Linked DNA regions of Homo sapiens: region 1 is linked to region 2. Evidence: promoter capture Hi-C in 16 types of primary human blood cells and fetal thymus (Javierre and others, 2016). All regions are on one chromosome and are shown on one strand. Each heading gives the region's core, a stretch centred on a gene start or on the middle of the fragment in contact. The rest is flanking DNA. Distances are from core to core; before and after follow the strand shown.

The links. Contacts are between HindIII fragments. The CHiCAGO score rates a contact against its expected background, and 5 or more counts as called.
Region 1: the fragment with the promoter of SIDT1 here is called in contact with the fragment with the promoter of GCSAM in region 2 in 1 of 17 cell types (activated CD4 T cells); the score reaches 5.2 in activated CD4 T cells.

Annotation. Positions count from the first base shown.
Region 1 is chr3:113,527,959-113,534,793 of GRCh38, reverse strand. SIDT1 (SID1 transmembrane family member 1) reads right to left here and starts at 2,239. Exons shown (of 25, transcript NM_017699.3): 1 at 1,551-2,239. The coding sequence starts at 1,772. RefSeq lists enhancers at 1,348-1,477, 1,948-2,277, 2,418-2,607, 2,628-2,847 and a silencer at 1,628-1,677. The HindIII fragment of the contact is 7,487 bases long and covers 1-5,958 here.
Region 2 is chr3:112,131,001-112,138,068 of GRCh38, reverse strand. It overlaps GCSAM (germinal center associated signaling and motility), which reads left to right and starts at 4,821. Exons shown (of 6, transcript NM_152785.5): 1 at 4,821-4,977. The coding sequence starts at 4,949. It overlaps TBILA (TGF-beta induced lncRNA), which reads right to left and starts at 4,646. Exons shown (of 1, transcript NR_157393.1): 1 at 2,710-4,646. It also overlaps a transcript of C3orf52 not described here. RefSeq lists enhancers at 463-981, 982-1,501, 4,496-4,675, 5,156-5,215. The HindIII fragment of the contact is 3,922 bases long and covers 1,465-5,386 here.

The DNA of each region.
Region 1 (6,835 bases), core at 990-3,489, 1.4 Mb before region 2:
CAAGAAATACCAAAGCCTGATGTCAGGATTTACTTAGCACATGTAATTTGAGTTTTCTTACCAATGATTTAGGGGGAAGCTGAGACTTACTCCAGAGATCATGGAGTTTTCAGACTTTTTTCTGCTCCCAGCCAATCACAGGACTAGGAACACACCTCACGTGCAACATGTCAACCAGTCGATGAGTTCTCCCACGCTAGATAGAAAGAGGCTGGGTATATGGCGTTTGGGAAACAAAAACTGCAGCCTCTCCCTTGTCTACCATGAAATGGCTCTGCATACAGCCACTCTGCTCACTACAGAACATATAACCTGAAGGTTACTGGAGGACAGAGCAGGGTGAGGGCTGTGCTGCCATGGTAACAGTGCCATAGGATTTGGTGCCACACTGGAGATGGGGCACTCAGGGCACTTTCTGGCTACACACAGCTGGAAGATGTCTAGGAGCAGTGTTAGGCACATTGGTCCCCCCTGCTCAATACAAACCACCCTCACTTTGGGAAGTGATGAGGTTTTCTAGTTCCGATCTGGAGTGAGAATCAGACGGAGGCATATCATGGTATCCCAATCATCTAGTTCTGGAATTTCCCTAGAGGGTAGGGGATGCTGGTATAGTAAGGGATACATAAACACATTTATATGGGAAGAAGATCCAGAGGTTGGTACACTGGGGAGTCTCTGTCTCTGTCTCTGTCTCTCTTTCTCTCTTTCTCTCTCTGTCTCCCTCTCTCTCCCCGCCCAGTGCTCCAGAGGTACCACACTAGAGGAAAGAAATGAACTATATGCATCTTCTTACGTTATATAATCGGAGTATATATGTCAAAGGGATAGTCACTGGAACATTTTTCCCTCCTTATCTTCCCTCAACTTTTGTCAAAAATAGGTCTAGAACTTTCACACAATTATCCATCCTTATTTAAAATCAAAACCTGGATTGATCAGCTGATGGCTGCAGTTCTCACGTCTTTGCCCAGGTCTTCTGGCGTCTCTGAAGCACAACGTGTGACAATGGCACAAAAACGCAGGAAGTGACTGTTGAATGCACAGAGGTTCTGCAGCTTCCGTCCATTTTCACACAATTTCCATTTTAGATTCTGAGCAGTTCTCCCTCCCCATGCGCTATGAAATAGAAGGGTCTGGCTGAATCAGCCACTTGAAATTAGGTTTCTTCCCTGCAGGGGATTAGGAACCGAGGTGCGGTTCTTCTTCGCACTCCACACCACACCCCGCAACCCTAGAAATCAGGACTTTCCTGGAGAAAGACCCAGCAGGGACCCAGGACCCGCAGACGGTGCGGGGAACTGGTGCCTCTGCAAAGCCCAGCAATGCCCTTGACCAGGCCAGGAGAGGCGCGAGGCGAAGCAGAGTTGTCCCCGAGGCGTGTTGAGGCAGCTAGGGCAGGGCAGCGATTGCTTCGGAGGAGAAAGGGAAAGAAAGTCCCCTGGTCCCCGAAGTCTCCCAAGGTCAATTCCCAGGGGACTCCAAAGCAGCGACGGGGCTCTGAGATCTGGCAAGTTCTAGGAGTCGAGCGAGGGGAGCGAGTGTCTTACCTGGTCGGGCTGGCTGGTGTAGTTGAAAGAGTAGATGTTCTCGGTGCTGAGGTTCACCACCCCGCTGTAGACATGATCGAAATCGGCGCCCCTGGCAGCGTCGAAGGGGTCGCGGCGCGGTGCCGGGGGCTGCCTGGGGGATTTCGCCGGGTGCCCGGGCGACGCCGCCAGCAGGAGCCAGGGCAGCGCGCAGAGCAGCGCGAGCCGCAGGCAGCCGCGCATGGTGGGCACCGCGCCCGGGCTCGAAAGCGGAGCCACCCTGGGGAGGGGGCGAGCGCAGAGAGGGTCCTTCCAAAGCCCGGTGCAGGGCCAGGCGTCCGCTTCAGAGCCGAGCGGGTGATGCCTGGCGAACCCAGCCGGCCAGGGCTGGCAGCGTGCTGACGAAGGGCCGATCAAATACTGATGCTGCCGCCTGGGGTCTCCACTGGAGGTCACGGGTGGAGAGTAGGGCGGACTGGAGAAGTGGAGATGTGGGGCTGCTGATTTTCCTCCGGCTTCTAAGTCCCCCGTTTCTCATCGCCGAGAATCCCCCCACTTACCCAGCCAGAATTTAGACCGATCTCTTCTCCCTCAACCTCAATAACAGCAATAATAAAAAGGCATTGGAGTCATTAAAAAGAAATACCCGCTAGTCTCGAAAAGTCAACCTGACGCCACATCGAGGAGGAAATTCGGTCTGTTTCAAATACGTGTGCACCCTGGCTGCAGGAGAAGAAATAGAAAGCAAAAGAGCCCGTCCCCCAAGAGGGTGCGCGAGTTCGCTTTCCCAGGCTGCTACCTGCAGAGAACTCTTGCCTGTCTGAACGATAATTACTCTCTATTCTCCCCTCTCTAATAGAACCTCTCCTCAGACACCTGTTTTATTTCTTTATTACCTCCTACTCTCCATGGAGAGTCTCACGTCATCACGTTCTCTCCCTCACCATATGTGTATGTATGTAAATATGTACAGTTAAAAAAAAAAAGATATGGTAAAGAGAACAATTTCCAGCACTGCCTGAAGTCTGGTCCCGGAAGTTGTCAAAAAACGACTCAGACTAACTAGATTTATGCAGAAGGCATTTCTTTCCACCCCAGCCTCTTACCTACTTTACCATTGCAATGACTTCTTCCAGATTCTGAGAGAAACCCCAGGATTGTTTTTTTAAAGGCAGAAACCACAGCCTATCGTAAAAAGGAAATACTTTTCTGATAAAAATTAGGGGATTAGATTTAAAGAGTTAAAGAGGCAGGTAAGGAGCAGGGTGAGAATGGGGCCATCAGAAGACCTTGCAGAACATTGAACAATCACAATTTACGTGTGGAAGAGAACTCACTGTTTTATTTCAGCTTCATTACTGTATACTATAAAAGAATGTAATTGTGTTCAACCTGAAGGACCATTTAAAAAGAAGTCATTAAGAAGGAAAAGATCTTTTTCAAAAATTTAAGATTACAGATTAAAATCCTAGTCCTTGCCATCTTTAAAGAGATAGATTTGTTTTTGTTTTTACCTTGTCTAATTCCTTTAATTTCTTAAAACATCAAGAATGAATGCAATACATTTGTTGTAAAGTTTTCTGTGAAATCAGAAAACAATGCTGATGGAAGATTAAGTTAGTAGACTCCTTATTAGGACAATTTTCAGTTTTAAAGTTTTGAATGTTCTTGGCCAGGTGCAGTGGCTCATGCCTGTAATCCCAGCACTTTGGGAGGCTGAAGTGGGAGGTGGGCTAGCTTGAGGCCATGTGTTCATGACAAGTCTGGGCAACATGATGAAACCCCATCTCTACAAAAAATACAAAAATAGCTGGGCGTGGTGGTGCATGCCTGTCGTCCTAGCTACTTGGGAGTTGAGTTGGGAGGACTGCTTGAGTCCGGGAGGTCGAGGCTGCAATGAGCCGTGAACACCCCACTGCACCCCAGCTTGGATGACAGAGCAGGACCCTATCTCAAAAGGAAGAAAGGAAGGAAGGAAGAAGGAAGGAAGAAAGGAAGGAAGGAAGGAAGGAAGGAAAGAAAGAAATTTCTTGAAAATATATGGGTATATGGGCAAAAATACTAATTCAAAGGAGAGTCTGGGGGTAAAACTTCAAATAGAACTCACTGTTTTTGAGGAGCATAACGAAATAATTTCATCCAGAATTTGAATGACTTTAAACTGTTGTATTCAAAATATCTGTGCCTCTTTTCAAAGTTCAACAACATTTCATAAACTTGAAATCTACGAAGGTCCTGGAGGTTAGCTGGTGTGACCAGTTAAAGGAGTCTCTAGGATTATGGAGTTCTATTATGGCGTTCTTTTTAAACACTATAAGAGATGAGGAACTGGTTCTTTCACAAGTCAACACCTTCTTTTGGGGGCAAGTGTCTCATTATTAGAAAGACATTTCATATTCTTAGTTGAAATCTGCCTGTCTTCTACTCACTTGTACTAGTTCTGCCCTCTGGAGTCATAGGAATAAACCTAATACTTCTTCCACATGACAGACCTGTGGGTATTTAAATGGTGCTATGACCCTTCCTTCAAGATTTTATCTCAACTTTACGCAACTAAATTGGAAGCAAATGGAACAGATCCTTCATCATAGCATGAAACCCAAAATATTTATTTTAAAGCCATTTGTATGGATTATCTATACCTAACAATTTGAGTTATATATTACAAGTCACTCTGTAATATTATCTAATCCTTATTCTAGCCAAAAGTCATTCAGTGACCTCAAGTAATTAACCTCTCAGGATCACAAGGTTGTTGTAAGGATAAAAGGGAGAATGATGTATTTGAAAGTACATTAAAAAGTTTAAAGTGTTGAATGAACAAATACTGTTATGGTGTGACTGCTAGTTCAATAGCTAAAAAATAAAATGTGGTCCATTAGGTAGGTGGTTTTTTTCTTTATTTTTAAAAGGAATTTTATTTTAAATTTTTGTGGGTACTTAGTAGGTGTATATATGTATGGAGTATATGAGATATTTTGATACAGGCATGCAATGCATAATAATCACATCATGGAAAACGAGATATCCATCACCTCAAGCATTTATCCATAATGTTACAAACAACCCAATTATACTCTTTTAGTGATTTTTAAATTTACAATTAAATTATTATTGACTATAGCCTGTTGTGCAATCAAATACTACACCTTATTCATTCCATTTTTTGGTATCCATTATCCATCCCCACCTTCCTCCCCCAGCTCTCCCACTACCCTTCCCAGCCTCTGGTAACCATCCTTCTACTCTCTTTCTCCATGAGTTCAATTGTTTTGATTTTAAAGGCAGTTTTTTTTTTTTAATATCTACAATGTCAGGATTCTACTGTGAGAGACTAAATATGCAAGTGGGCAATGGCCAGACCATAAATAGCAATACAACTAACTCTGACCCACAGTTTCTGCAGCAATCAGCTCAGGAAACAAAAACACTTTAGCAGCAACCAGTCCAAGAAATCAAACTACAACTGCTGCAGCAAATGGCCCAAAAGAATTAGGTCTTGCTCAATGAGTCAATTTCCCCAATTTTTGCCCCTGCTTCCAACTTAGGATCAATCAGAGAAAGTTAAATATGCTTCCCAAACCACAAAATGCCCTGCTCCTACTTAGCCTGCCTCCAGCTTCCAACAGCAAGATCCAGTCAGAGCATACCTGAAACCTTCCCCTTTTATAACTATGAAGTTTTCTCACTCCCCTTCCTGCCTTTGAGTCTCTACTAAGCAGAAGTGATGGTGGTCAACTCCCTTGCTAGAGCAAGCTCTGAATAATTAGCCTCTGTTTGTTTTCATTTGTGTGAGCTTCACTTGTTTCTGTAGTTTTCTTGAAGTTTCCACAGAGATACTGTCTGCACTGCATGTCACCATGGATCCCAGTTCTCTGCCAGGTGCAGTACCCACCAAGGCTTCTTGTGCCTCACTGCACACAGTTGAGTCTGCATTGACACATTGGGTCAGCACTGGTTCTGAACTCTGCTCTTTGATTTTGAGTTCTTTGGCTATTTAGTCTCACTTTGGTACCTAGGATTTGTTATCACTTCCCATTTGATTGGCATCTTTGGTGGAGTCAGGCTATTCCTTTTCATCTCTGTTTTCTCTCTTTTCTGCTTCTGTTTTGCATTGTGCAATCTGGAAGTGTTGTCATAGAGTAGAACACAGGCATAGGCCCTATAAGCCTTTAATTTGAGCTGTCCTCCCAGACCAATGTAGTTTTCATTTGACTGGCATTCATTTGGACAAACTTTGCTGTGGGTTACCAATAAAACTAGATAAGATTATCCTCTCATCTAGATTTTTGTTCTGAGAATTTGGTTTTGATCCAGAAAGAGCATTCTCTCTGGTGTTATACTTGCCTGGGGAGACACATTGTCAGGTGTGCATTTAGAGGCAACTCATCCTCAAGGTTGGGGGCTCAAGATACAAAGTACACAAGCTTTACTTTTAACTTTTGCCAGCTCTTATGGGACCATTTAAGTCAGATTTTTCCACTCCTACAGGAAAAACTCCTTTTTCCTATATATATATACTTATTCTAATTCTAATTCTAGTGCCCACCTCTCTAAATAGCATAATTTCACCAAAGATTATTTGGGCTTTCAATGGCCATGCTGGGAAACACTGGACTTAAACAATTATCTGAGAAGCACCTTAGAAAAGAAAGAGAAAATGATTTATCAGATGTAATGGATAATTTTCTAATTGGTATGCAAAAGTCTACAAATAAAACTCAGTTCTAAAATTGCTTCACTATAAGATTCTTTGGTTAAAGTGAATGAGCAATCTGATGACTTAAACAACAACAAAGTAGAATTATTTCCTTGGTAAATTCTACTCCTTTTTGGTTTCCAGTTATCACTCTATGTTCAGTTTTCCTTCTTCGTCTTTATTTTTCTGATATTTCTTTTTCTGCATCTCCTTCCTTGCCTTCCTCTCATGCAGACCACCTTCTTCCCCAACAGTCCTCTTAAAACTCAAAATGCCATTTGCTTCTAAGGATGCATCCCTTCCATGAGCTAGGTATGTAGGCAACTGTAGAATTTAAACCTTGAACCCAAGATGAATTAAGAGCTATCACTGAAGATTTCCCTAAACCCAAAAAGAAGAGCAAATAGTTGTAGAATAATTTGGAATTTTTTTGGGTGCCTATGACCCAGGAGTACCTGACCTATATCAATTTGTGCATATGTTGGTTGAAACATCAGATATTGGATAGCAAAGACTGATTGAACTGATGCAGAAAGAGACCTGCAGGATTTCTCTCTCTACAATAAACCTGAGAGTCAAAAAATCCCAAAACAAAAGACAAAAACCA
Region 2 (7,068 bases), core at 3,572-6,071:
TATACTGCTCCTTATTGACACATTGGAGTGATGTAGACCAGGTTTCAAAGTCAAGCTAAGACGTCTTTCTATGAGTACTTATTAAATAGGACAACAAATAGATATATCCACACCCCGTTTGAACTTATATCTTAGCTCTGTCACTTCCTATTGGGATATCCTTGAGCAAGTCACTTGAGCCTGGTGTTCTCATCTACAACAAAGAGGAAATGGTATTTATTCCACAGAATTCTTACATGAAGAAATTAGAAATTGTATCTAAAGCATTTAACAGAATTACTGGATTATTAGAAAGCTCTCAACAAATACTTATTGTAATTATACTTTTCTATGATCTTCAAAGGATATAGCAAAACAGTCATTGGTCATTAATTCTTTACAGCAATGCCAAAGGATAGGAAAGTAAATTTAAAGATCTCAACCCAAACGTTCTCTGATTTCCCTATCATCTGCTTACAAATATCCAGGCTTTTATTTCCAATTCAACACATACGGTTTCTTACATGTGTTAGAAATGTAGTTTCTTACACGTGTTAGGCACTGGAGTTAAACACTGAGAAGAATAAAGAGTGAATCTATGATTCAAAGATTTGTTATCTGGGCTTCTTTGTGTGGGGGTGTGTTGCTCTACTCATTTACGGAGAGGAGATATATTATTTATAGTCCAGAGTCAGTTTTACAGCAGTAAATCTATTATAAATATCCTGCTCTTTCATGCTACTTTACACAAGTGATTGATAGCTAACACTTCCACAGCTCAGCTTCTCCATCTAGCGGCCTGAGTAAAACAGAAGCTTGAAAGCAATTCCTAACCTTCCCCTAAATTACAATGGGCAGATTGATTTCCAACTCACCCTACCATGGCTCTCTGGACTCAAAGACTCTTTTAGACAATAGTGGAACTAATTAAGCCACACATGGAGCAGCATCCAGGCTGTGTCTGCTCAGGCTGCCCCAACTAGGGTCTAGGATCTGTTCATTCATACTGGTGGGAAGTCAACAATAGCCCTACTCACTGGCTAAGCACCCTGTCCATGTGGTCTCTCTTTCACAATGCTAAGACATTCTGGTCCCCTGCTGCTAGCCTCTAGGTAGTGCAAAATGTGCTGAGGCCACTGAGGAAGGGGCACTTTTAGGTTAGATTGATTGTTTTTCTTTTTTTCTGAAGGTAATAGGGAAGAGAGAGGTTAGTTATAATAGTATACCAAGATTCCTTCCGACTCCCACACATACATACCTCTTTTTCTCGTACACAAAATGGCAGACCACTGGTTGTCATCCCAGATTTTCCATACACAAGGAAGAAGCATTCAATAATTTGGAACACATACTCTATTTTTTATTGTAATTATCCAGCCTGGGAAAGGAAATGGTTTTGAAAGAGGAGAATAGGAGAAACAGACAAGGGTACCCCCAGGTTTCTTAGATCTATATGCTGTGGAAACCTGATTTTCAATATAAGCTTTGTTAAGAATATTCTTTTTTACTTCAATGCTTCATTTAATTTATTGATGGGAGGGTTTTCCTGAATTTCAAATATTTACAGAATAAGAAAATTTACCACCCTAACATCTTTCCTAGAGTCAATTACATGAGGGATTCATGAAAAAAATTAATGGAGCTACTATTGGGGAAATAGAATTAAAAGCAAAATCTCCTGCTATTTCAGAAAACCTCACCACAAAAATAGAAGAGAAAGAAAACACTTTTATTTCTGAATATTCAACCAGAATGTAATGCACACCACAGGCAATCCCCTAAAGAGATTACTAAAACAGAAAGAAATCTTCCCCTTTTATATGCCAAGAAGATATCCTCCACTGCACACATTTTCTCAAGACAAACAATGACTAGTATTCACATAAGAGGACTTGACAGCACCATTTGTCACATAGCGTTTATCTGAAATTATTTTTGTAATATATTTGCTAATTGCCCTTAAAAACTAATTTCTCATTTCTTTTTGGTTGGAGGTAGATTTGCAATTTGGAGTCAGGTGTCAACTGAAGTTAGACTCCAGAAAATTGTATTCTGGAATACTTGAGCATGGAGACTGCACATGGACATTAGGGTGTGTGCTCTGAGATAAACGAAAGCTACAGTGAGAGAACATAACCAATCCCAAAGATAATTTCAAAGAACAATGACAGCAAAGGTTAGGTGGGAGTAGTATTTGACAATGCTTATTTGATATTGTCTCTCAGAGCTGCAAACTAGATTATACAAGTCATTAGCGTCAGATAGCTTTAAAGTTGTGACCTTCCTTTACATGAATTTTCTAGCCAGTTTCCTATCCTTTGCAAGAGGTAACAAAACATGAAACCCTAGAATGTGTGAGTTCAGGCATTAGGTATATAATAAGGAGGCTCTCTGTCCAGGGCTGCTTTCTGTCTTGCAGGGGCTAGTGAGTCTTGTGTGTTTTTATTTTATTCTCACATTTGTGTTTTTTTAGAAAAGTGAATGATCAATAATGGCTTATCTTTTATAATAAAATCTTCCATTTTTAATAAGGTGCTCCTGGAAATCCCTCACAGAGCCAAAAGGAAGTTTGGAGAGCAGCCATAAGGATAAGAATGATGTGAGATGAATCTGGGGTTGCACAGCTAGTACCCTAGTTTCTCTGAAATTGTTTCTTCTAAGCCCACTCCCCATCCTTCTCCTGCCTGTTTTAGATATGACCTTTACATTACTCAAGGACAAGCAATAAAATATTTTGCACTTTGTTTTATTTCTTTCAAGGAACTTCACAAGAGCAGTCCTGTATCTGCTTTTCTTACCATTGAACCTACAGTGCCCAGCACATAGTAGGCACTCGACACATACTTGTTAAAGGAATGAACAAACAGATGAGTGACCAAACTGGAAACAACCATCAAATACAAGGATAATACAAAAATCCATGATTCCTGTCCCGAGATTTCTTTCTTTTTTAACCTTTTGTCTGTTGAGATTCATTTATGTGCAGTGAAGTGCACCCTTATTAGTATACAGTTCTGTGAATTATGAGAAATGCATACAGTCATGTGGGCACTAACACAATCAAGATAAAGAACAACAACAAAAAATTTCCTCCTGTGCTTTGAAAGTCAACACCTCCCCCACCTTTTGCTCCTGGCAACACTAATATGTTTTCTGTTCCTGTGGTTTCACCTTATCTCTAATGTCACAGAAGGTAGGCTTTAAGTCTGGTCTCTTTCACTTAGTGTAATGCATTTGAGATTGATCCAAGTTATTGCATGTATTAATAGTCCACTCCTTTTCAATGATGGTCAGGATTCTGTTGTGTGGATGTAATATAACACAGAGCTTATTTAGCAATTCACTCAATGAAGATCAGTTGGGCTATTTCCAGGGTATTTCGGCTATTATGAGTAAAGCACATATAAAAATTTGTACACACAGTCTTAGAGGACATAAGTTTCACTTGGCTAAATGCCTAGGAGTGAAATTGCCAGGTTGTACAGTAACCCTATGTTCAATTTTATAAGAAATTGCCATACTTCTGAGATGGGAGAGTTCCCTTGACCCCTTCTCGGGACTTGCGACAGGGGTGTGGCCTACTTACTTGGCCACCACCATGCTCAAACTCTCTGTGGGAGCGGGAGCACGCAGGCAAGCGGGTGCCAGGGCTTCGATGAGCACTTTTGGGCTCCAGCCCAACAGCAGCATTTAGGGATGTGTTACAATTCATGCTCTTTTAGCAGTTGCCATCCGTGGACAGCTAAGTGTTAACCCACTCAATGGAGAGTCAGGGTGGCAGCCTTTTACACCCTGCCCTGTTGGTACCCAGGTTCTTGTTCAGCATCCAGGAAGAATCAGGTTGCATGAATGGTTTGAAAGTTGATGGATGTGGACGATTTTATTAAATGGTGGAAGTGGCTCTCAGTGGAAGGGGAGCTGCAAAGGGGATGGTGCAGGAAGAAAGTGACCTTTCCCTGAAGTCTGCTGTCTCTGGCCGGGCTCCTCCCTGAAGTCATGCCACCTGAAGTTAAGCCACATCTCTGACACTCAGTTGCTTCTTCTCCTCTTGATGTTCAGCCGCTTGTCTGTCTGCCAGCTGAGGTCTGGGGTTTATATGGGCACGGGATAGGGGGGCTGGACAGGCTAAAGAGTAACATTTGGGCAGGATAACAGGGATAACTGTTCTCATTTAGGGCTTCGGTTTCAAGGCTTGAGGGTGGGACCTTTGCCAGTGAACCACCCTCTTCTACCCAGTAAAGCCCTGCCTTCTGTCCTTATCACTTCTTTCCAAAAAGGCTGTCATTTTGCATTCTCATCAGCAATGCATGAGACTTCCAGTTGCTTTGCATACCTTGCCATACTTGATATTGTCAGGGTTTTATAGCCATTGTAATAAGTATGTAAAAGTGTTCCATTGTGGATTTGATTTACACTTCCCTAATAACTACAATGTTTAGCATCTTTTAATGTTCATCTGTATAGTTCCTTTGGTGAAATGTCTGTTCAAATATTTTGCCCATTTTGTTACTGGGTGTTTGTTTTCAGATTTGAGAGTTGTTGATACTATATTTTCTACAGGTCTGTGGCTTGACTGTTTTAACCTCCTTCTGACTTTTCTAAGAAGACAACGTGATTTATAAACGTAAATATCTGTAGTGGAAAAACTCCCATGGCCCATCTGTAATTTCAGACCTGGGATTCCCCAGAGGTTCGAAGCTCTCATTGACGGGTAGTTGCTGGTTATGGCCAACAGCCAGGTTGGTTCAGGCACTGACATGTTAGGACATTCTGCACATGCGTGCCTCTAACACTCCTCCCCCAGCCTCTTCCTTCCCTCTGCAGAGACACCCTTCTCCTTTCTGCTGTCTCTGCACGGGTGGCCAGAGCCACACAGCCCTTTCTTTAAGTCAGGAGTTGCCCTGTCAGAGCACAAGGCAAGAAGGAAGTGGTAAAGGGACGGAGGGGAAGCCCTGAGAGGACTGAGAGGATGGGAAATTCTCTGCTGAGAGAAAACAGGTAAGTCTAGACTCCCTGTGGGAGAGCAGAGGAGATGGGACAGGACAATACAGCAAGGAAGAGAAAAAGAAAGCTAGTATACAGTTAGCACACTAAGTTGGGGTAGAAAGTAGTTGGGTAAGGAAACTGCCAAGCCTTCAGTGCCTACTCTGTGCCAGATACCACATTAAATTTCCCATAGGTTTTGCCTTCTCCCAAGAATCATGGTGAGCAGCTGATGGAGAATAGCTGAAAGGTGGAAAGACTTTACCAAGGAAGGTCTATATAATAGGTTACCACCTAAGAAATGAAACAACTTTCTGAAAGCCCGGGAAGGAGATGCTCTCCTGAGCTCCTCATGCTCCACAAGGAGGTCAAAATCACCACCCTCTTTCAGCCACTATTTTAAGTTTGAAATAAACAGCAAGCTTCCTGCCACCTTGAGTCTTCCTTTGATGTGCACTCCCTGCAAGCAGGTAAGCAGAGGTCATCTAGATTAAATAGGCACAGAACTCAGATTTACTTTCTGGACCTCAGCCTCTTTATTTTAAGTAGAAATAATAATACAATATCTACCTTAGAGAGTTCTAGTGTGTATTGTGCTAGCATAGTGCCTGACATAAAGTAGGGTTCAAAATTAGAAGATATTTTCTGCTTTCTTTTTCTGACCATCATCTTCCTTAATATCAAAGCCGTGCCACCAAAATAGTGCCACCACAGACAAGGTAATCTCTAGGGTATAAAGTGGGGTGATCTAGAGAGAGTAAGCGAGCCAGAGGGGGTCTTCACAGGGTTATGTTTGGAATCCCTGGTCTCAGTTCATGCTACTGGAGAGTGGAACACAGGAAAAAATGGTAGCCCACTTTTGACCACTTGCCGAAAAGAGGATTGGTGGTCCTGTGGAATATCTCATGTCCCTTCCTAAGAATCATGTTGTCTGAGACTTCTCTACCCTGGGTTGTCACAGCCCCTTGTCAATCTTCTACTCTAGCATTGTTCTAACAATTATATAAATTACTATTTTTATTACTAGATATGAGATGCTCAAATGTAGTGATTGTTTCTTATTTATCTTTGAATTCCTGGTTCCTGGCATTGTTTCTGGCATATCACGTGCACTGAATAAGTGCAAAAAAACTTTAAAAAAATTTTTTTACTTTAAAATTTTGTTTTATGTAAGAAAAAAAACCTTTTTCCAAGGTGCACACATCTTATGCTATTTGGACTTCTTATGGTTTTTTATTTATTTTAAAGAAAATTCGATTTTAAATCTAGAAAGCTTTTTGGTTTCTGCCATTGCATTCATGCTTAAAATTCTTTGCTCTTCCTAAGATAAGACAAATCAACTCACATAAGTTTTGATTTTGTTATTTTACATTTGGCAACATATATTCAATATATGGTGTCAGATGTAAATTTTTTTCCAAATAGTTGATCAGTTTGCCCAACATCTTTATTTCTATGATGATTTAAAAGGTCTCCCTTGAACCAAGTGCAGTGGCATGCACCTGTAGTCCCAGCTACTCAGGAGGCTGAGGCAGGAGGATTGCTTGAGCCCAGGAGTTTGAGGGCAGCCTGAACAACATAGCAAGACCCAGTCTTAAAAATAAATTCATTAAAATAATTAAATAAAATGTTTCCGTTAACGTATTCAAAAGTCTTGTATATATTGGTATCTAATTTTCATTGTCACCCCAACACCCAGTTATCATCTAGTCAGCATACCCCCCCAACCGTGTCTCTCCAGATCAAATAAGCTAAGAAGTCAGGGAAATTTTGCACAGAATAGAATGGCACTCATCCCTTCATGAGAGGAGCTCAGTCTCAGAGGAAGAGACCTGCCAGCAGCAAACCCAGCTTTTCCCCCTTAGTGGCTGTGGATCCTCAGACCAGTTGCCTAGCATTTTGGGCCTCAGTTTCCTCATTAGTATAAAAAATATAATGATAATATCTATCTTATGGATTTATTCTGGGATTAAATGAAATATAACACACAAAATGATTGGCATATAGTAAGTAGTGTTTAAGTGTTAGTTTCTTTATCCTCATACTCCCAATTCCCAACAAGTGGGAAGATGGGTATACAGAAATCTAACCCAAACAATGAACCAA